2 separate regions of the Homo sapiens genome follow, and region 1 is linked to region 2. Evidence: promoter capture Hi-C in 16 types of primary human blood cells and fetal thymus (Javierre and others, 2016). All regions are on one chromosome and are shown on one strand. The core of a region is centred on a gene start or on the middle of the fragment in contact, and the rest is flanking DNA. Distances in the headings are between cores, read along the strand shown. Region 1 overlaps DUSP4 (dual specificity phosphatase 4). Region 2 holds the start of DCTN6 (dynactin subunit 6).

Region 1 (2,723 bases), core at 139-2,638, 820 kb before region 2:
TCCAATGTATAAGCCTTCCCAATGAGGAAGAGGGGGAATGGGGACCCTTGGATTCAGTGCCTCCAATGTCCACCTTCAACCCAGGCTTACAGGGGTTCCTTATCCTTCCCACCCGCCCTCAAACCCAGGAACCCCAGAGCAGGGCCAGCCTACCGATGTACTCTATGGCTTCCATGAACCAGGAGCTGATGTCGGCCTTGTGGTTATCTTCCACTGGGATGCACTTGTACTGATAGTGTCCTTCAAAGTGGTTTGGGCAGTCCGAGGAGACATTCAACAGAGCCGTGATGCCCAGGGCGTCCAGCATGTCTCTCCGGGCAGCATGGTAGGCACTGCCGAGGTAGAGGAAGGGAAGGATCTCCACAGGACCCCCCTGCACAGAAAGGGAAACAAAGGCCCCTGAATGACATGAGGGTAAAGTGCTTGGCACAGGGAGTGGAAGCTTGTCTGAGAAGAGCTTTCCTTTCCAAACCCAGGGAGAATGCCTGCTGGGCCTGGCCCTCCCAGCCTCCCCCTGTAGCCTCCTGGAACTCTTGGAGGGGTGATAGGCCCAGTGGGACTTCTCCAGCCTTTGCCCTCTACTTGTGAGCAGAGAGGCCAGGGCAGGTAAAGTCTTGTGGGACTCTCCTGCACCTCCCCCATGGCAAAATAAGCGGCAGGACAATGCCGGCCTTATGGCACCATCTGTGACACTGAGTTTATATCTGCTAATCATCAAGCCATTTGCTGTGTGGTTTAGATACTTATTTGTTTTGATATGTATTCACTGGGCATATCAAAAACAGGTGTGCAGTGGCTCACACCTGTAATCTCAGCACTTTAGGAGGCTGAGGTGGCAGGATCATGTGAGCCAGGAGTTCCAAGACCAGCATGGGCAACACAGTGAGACCTCATCTCTCAAACAATGAAGCTGGCATGATGGTGCACACCTGTAGTCTCAGTTGCTTGGGAGGCTGAAATGGGAGGATCATTTGAGCCCAGGACTTTGAAGCTGCAGTGAGCTATGATTGCGCCACAGGACTCAAGCCTGGGTAACAGAGTGAGACTCTGTCTCTAAAAATAAACAAATAAATAAGCTGATGCCCTCATGGCCACACAGACAAGAGAGAGGATCTTGGCAAAATGAGGCAACAGTGGCTTAAATTTAGCACATGAGATGTGGGCAGCAGAGTCCATCTAACTGAAAGGGCTGGAGGGTGGGCTTATAAGAAACACAGTGGCTCAAGCAGGTTTTCTTGGAGGGAGGGTGGGTGACCATCTATGTTCATTCGGCTGATACGTGGGAGCAGCCTGCCTGTCGGGGACTGAGATGTATTTCATGGCCTGCTACTTCAGAGGAGAATGACCTCAGCTTCCCAGAGAGCAGGTCCCCCAGGGCTTCTGGAGGCCTCCTCACTTGTCCGGACACGACGTTAGAGGCCAAGCCAGGGAGTCATGTCTTTAGACTTTTTTCTTAGGAGGATATTTAGAGAGGGAAGGGGAAGATTTCCAAGAAGTAAATAGGTCCTACCTAACATCCCACCCCAATACTCCGGGTTCACCGCATTCTCCCCAAATTGAGGCATAACATTCAAAGACTTAAAAAAATCTCAGGATTGGATGCAGTGGCTCACGCCTGTGATCCCAACACTTTGGGAGGCCAAAGCAGGAGGATCACTTGAGGCCAGGAGTTCAAGACCAGCCTGGGCAACATAGCAAGACCCCCCCCCCCCATCTCTACCAAAAACCTTTTAAAATTAGCCAGGCATGGTAGTGCCACCTGTAGTCCCAGCTACCAGGGAGGATCCCTTGAGCCCAGGAGTTCGAGGCTGCAGTAAGCTATGATCACACCACTGCACTCCTGGGTGACAGAGCAAGACTGTCTCAAAAGCAAAGACAAAAAACACCGTCAGAACTCTGAAAAGAAGGCATCCACTGGCCCCTACGCTGTTCCTGCCCCCCACTTCCAAGCCCTGCCCCCCGAGTCTACCTGGTCGTGTAGTGGGGTCCCACAGGAGCTGCAGCCCAGGTCCAAGGGCTCTGTGGCACTGGGGGGAACCGGGGGTGGGATGGCTGCCAGGGCCTTGGTTTTAGAACAGAATTCTGGGTACTCGGAGGAAAACCTCTCATAGCCGCCTGTAAAGGAGAAAGAAGCTCAGGTTAATGGGGTCACTAAGCCAGCAGGAAGTCAGAAAGAACTCGACTCCTACAGACTCAGGCGGACTGCTAGGAAGGCAGGGGCTGGCGTGCTCCATATTGGCCACTAGGTGGCGCTGTGGACCTAGAGAATGGCCATGGAGTGGTTTCCAGAGATGCAGAGGACACACTCGTCAGGACTGCAGCAAAGCTGGAAGGATAAGCTTTATGGACAAGACTTGGGTTAGAGAGGTAGACATACAAAGGAAGACGTGCAGGGGGATGTGCAGAAGTGACTGTGGAGTAGCTCCTCAGGACAATGACAAAATAGAGAAGCAAAGGTCACGCTGGGCTTCCAAGGACACTAAGTACCTGTAGAGACACCTGCCACCCCTGATTCCAGCCCTTCCTCAGGGGAGGTTCTCCAATGTGAGAAAGAAGGGAAAAAATGACCCTGGTACAAACTCTTCTGGATCTCAGCAATGGAACAGATGTCCATTGCACGTCCTCATGAATAGCTGTTCCGTCACCAAGAGACCAGAACAAGAGGAAAACGGGCTTAAATCTAAATAAACCCCTCATGCTATGTACAGGTTTGGGGCAAGGGA
Region 2 (3,091 bases), core at 364-2,863:
ATCCATCTACTACTAGTTCTGTTTCTCTGGTTGGAAACTGAGTATGTGACATCCGAGACATAAAGGGTCAGAAGGTGTTAGGGTGGGGGCAAGTGGAAGCGGTTGGGGGTGGAGAGTCAGCTTTGCTTTTTTGGAGAATGAGGGTGTGATCGAACACATAGAAAGAGAAAGAGAGAAGTAGGCAGGGGCTGGATGTAGCTCAGAGATAGGTTATGGAAAGCAGTTTGGATTTTAGATTTTAAGAGGAAGGGGAAATAACTGAATTTGGCTCTTATTTTTAATTTTTTTCCATTAAAAAAATACATTATAGAAAAAATATATAGAGACGGGATCATGCTGTGTTGACCAGGCTGGTCTCCAACTCCTGGCCTCAAGCGATCCTCCCATCTCGGCCCCCCAAAGTGCTGGGATTACCGGTTTGAGCCACGCGCCTGGCCTCAATTTGTCTTTTAAAGGATGATTTTGACTACAAGAGAACTACTTGGATCAGGGTTGGGGGTGGGAGATGAGGAGGTGTGATTTCAGAGGCCAAGTACAGAATGAGTGAACAACTGGGAGAGACACATCGGCTGAGATTAGAGAGATGGTCCGGTAGACAAAAGTGTAAGCATGAGACCCGAGGTAGGACAAGCAGAACTTGCAGATCTATTACAGATGTAGGGGTGAGGAGTGCCAGGGTGACTCTTGAGTGTCTGGCTTGAGCAGCTAGGCAAATGGTGTGGATCAAAAAAGCAGCAGGTTGCAGGGAGGACGGCAGTGTTAATCGAAAGTCATGTTCTGTAAGTTTTAGGTTCGATACGACTCTGAGCGGAGATGTCAATTAGTCAACCGAATGTCAGGTGTGAAGATCGGCACAGAGGGCAGAACCAGAGACATTCATTAGAGAGCAAACAGGTAGAGGGCACTTAACCTATAGGAAGGATGCACTCATATAGAGCGAGAAAAGGGCCAGAAGGAGCCCTAATGAGTAGAGAAAGACAGGCTGAAAAGGACATCGGCGAGGTCAGAGAAATACCTTTAGGGTGTAATTACGCCTACGCGAGTGGGTAAAATGAGGGCATAATGACGCGGACTGGATTGCAATAAACAGCTTTTATTCTTTTATCAGAGACACGATCTAGCTTTTTAGCCCAGGCCGGAGTGCGGTGGCATCCTCACAGCTCGCTGCAGCTTCACTGGGCTCAGGCGATCCTCTCGAGTAGCTGGGGTACAGGCGCAGGCCACCGTGACAGGCTTTTTTTTTTTTTTTTTTTTTTTTTTTTTGAAGAGAGGGTCTCACTATGTTACCCAGGCTAGTCTCGCAGTCTGGCACTCCTGGCCTCAAGCGATCCTCCTGCCTCGGCCTCTCGGCCTCCCAAAGTGCTGGCCTGTGCCCAGTCAATGGCTGTTCCAAATTAGGGTCTACCCATCTCTATGCAGGGCTAAAGTCCGCGGGCGGCCCCGCACCGCTACCAAAAGTACAGTCCTGTGCGCCCAGACGCGACGCAAACAAGAGTCGCAAGCTTCCGGGTCCCCGCCCCACCCCGGCTCCGCCCCTCCCCCAACCCTGCCAGGCTCTCCAATCGCATGTGGAATTATCGCTCTACCCAGGCGGTGGTGTCGATCTACGTTCCAATTGGGGCCGTACCATGGCGGAGAAGACTCAAAAGAGGTGGGTTTGCTGCTTGAGAAAAGCCTTTTCTCAGCTTTCCGTAGGGGTGGAACCTGTTCCTGGTCGCCAATGGTGGCGACTCAGAAGGTGTCTCATCCTGGGCATTCGGGCCGAAGGTACCTGAAGCCCAGACCTGGCGTCCACTGAGGGAGGGGGCGACGGAGTGGGGGCGGGGAGGGTTGAGAAGGGACGCGGAGTCGCTGCCTGGAAGGTTTTTGTTCCTGTCTGGCCGTCCCTCCCCACATGCGCCTGCGCAGAGGGGGTCTCCCGGCCGGGAGGGCGGGGGGGGCTGTGAGGGGAGGGTGACGTCAGCTTTTTCCTGGGGAAGGCCGGCTCCCTTCTCCCGCATAATCGGCGGTGCTTGGCGCCGCTGTACCCCACGGCTTGGCGCTGGATTCTCTGCTGCATGTTGCGAGACCCCCACGCCAGTGCTGGCCGCACCCCAGGCCCTTCCTGTCTCTGGAGGGTGGGGTGTGTAAAGGGATTTACGGTCGCTGTCAAAAGGGGGGCCGCGCCTGGACTTGAACTGTGACACACACACACACACATTATATAGATGCAAGGAGTACTTGCGCAGATTTGTTGCATAGATAAATTGCGTAATGGTGAAGTTGGCTTCTAGTGTACTTACCACCCAAATAGTGAACATTGTATCAGATGGGTAATTTTTCAGCCCTCAAACCCCTCCTACCCTCGCTGCTTTTAGAGTCCCCAGTGTCTGTTATTTCCCTCTTTATGTTTATGTGTACTCATTTTAGCTCCCACTTAAAAGTGAGAACATGTGCATTTGATTTTATTTCTGAGTTATCGCGTAAGGTAATGGCCTCCAGTTCCATCCATGTTGTTGCAAAAGACATGTTTCCTTTCTTTTTGATGGCTCTGTAGTATTCCATCGTATAGATACACCACATTTCCTTTATCCAGTCATCCGTTGATGAACACTTAGGTTGATTCCATACTTTGCTATTGTGAATAGTACAGTGATAGTCATAGGAGTGCAGTTGTCTTTTTAATACAATGGTTTCCTTTGAGTAGATCCTGGGTCGAATGGTAGTTCCGTTTGGATTGGTAGCTCTATATGGATTGCTGGGTCCAATGGTACTTGTGTTTAGTCCTTTGAGAAATCACCATACTATTTTCAATAGATGAACTAATTTATATTCCCACCAATAGTGTATAAGCTTAGAACTGTGACATTTTTTGCCAGGCGTGGAGTGGACAAGCTCCTTTGTAAACATGTGGGGACAGGAAGTTTGGCTTCTTCTCCGGTAGTCTTCATTGCTGGGGGCTGTTGGTGGCTGTTGGTGGCTGGGATGAGACAAGTGCATAAGTAAAGCCATTTCGAACAGCAGCAGTGTTGAGCTCCCTCTGCTGACTATTTTTGACAAAGAAAACTGACATTGTTTCTGGTGCCATAAATTAAAATGTAGATTTTTCTTC

What was found. Contacts are between HindIII fragments. The CHiCAGO score rates a contact against its expected background, and 5 or more counts as called.
Region 1: a fragment that was not itself captured here is called in contact with the fragment with the promoter of DCTN6 in region 2 in 2 of 17 cell types (M0 macrophages and naive B cells); the score reaches 10.7 in M0 macrophages.

Annotation. Positions count from the first base shown.
Region 1 is chr8:29,338,129-29,340,851 of GRCh38, forward strand. DUSP4 (dual specificity phosphatase 4) reads right to left here. Exons shown (of 4, transcript NM_001394.7): 2 at 1,970-2,115; 3 at 154-373. Among named protein-coding and RNA genes, the nearest start is that of DUSP4, 11 kb to the right of the region's middle. RefSeq lists an enhancer at 2,084-2,378. The HindIII fragment of the contact is 1,897 bases long and covers 441-2,337 here.
Region 2 is chr8:30,154,756-30,157,846 of GRCh38, forward strand. It overlaps DCTN6 (dynactin subunit 6), which reads left to right and starts at 1,614. Exons shown (of 7, transcript NM_006571.4): 1 at 1,614-1,651. The coding sequence starts at 1,629. DCTN6-DT (DCTN6 divergent transcript) reads right to left here and starts at 1,905. Exons shown (of 1, transcript NR_186490.1): 1 at 1,074-1,905. LOC124901927 (a long non-coding RNA gene) reads right to left here. Exons shown (of 2, transcript XR_007060880.1): 2 at 2,417-3,091. RefSeq lists enhancers at 705-914, 739-1,721, 1,665-1,814 and a silencer at 1,875-1,984. The HindIII fragment of the contact is 1,330 bases long and covers 1,501-2,830 here.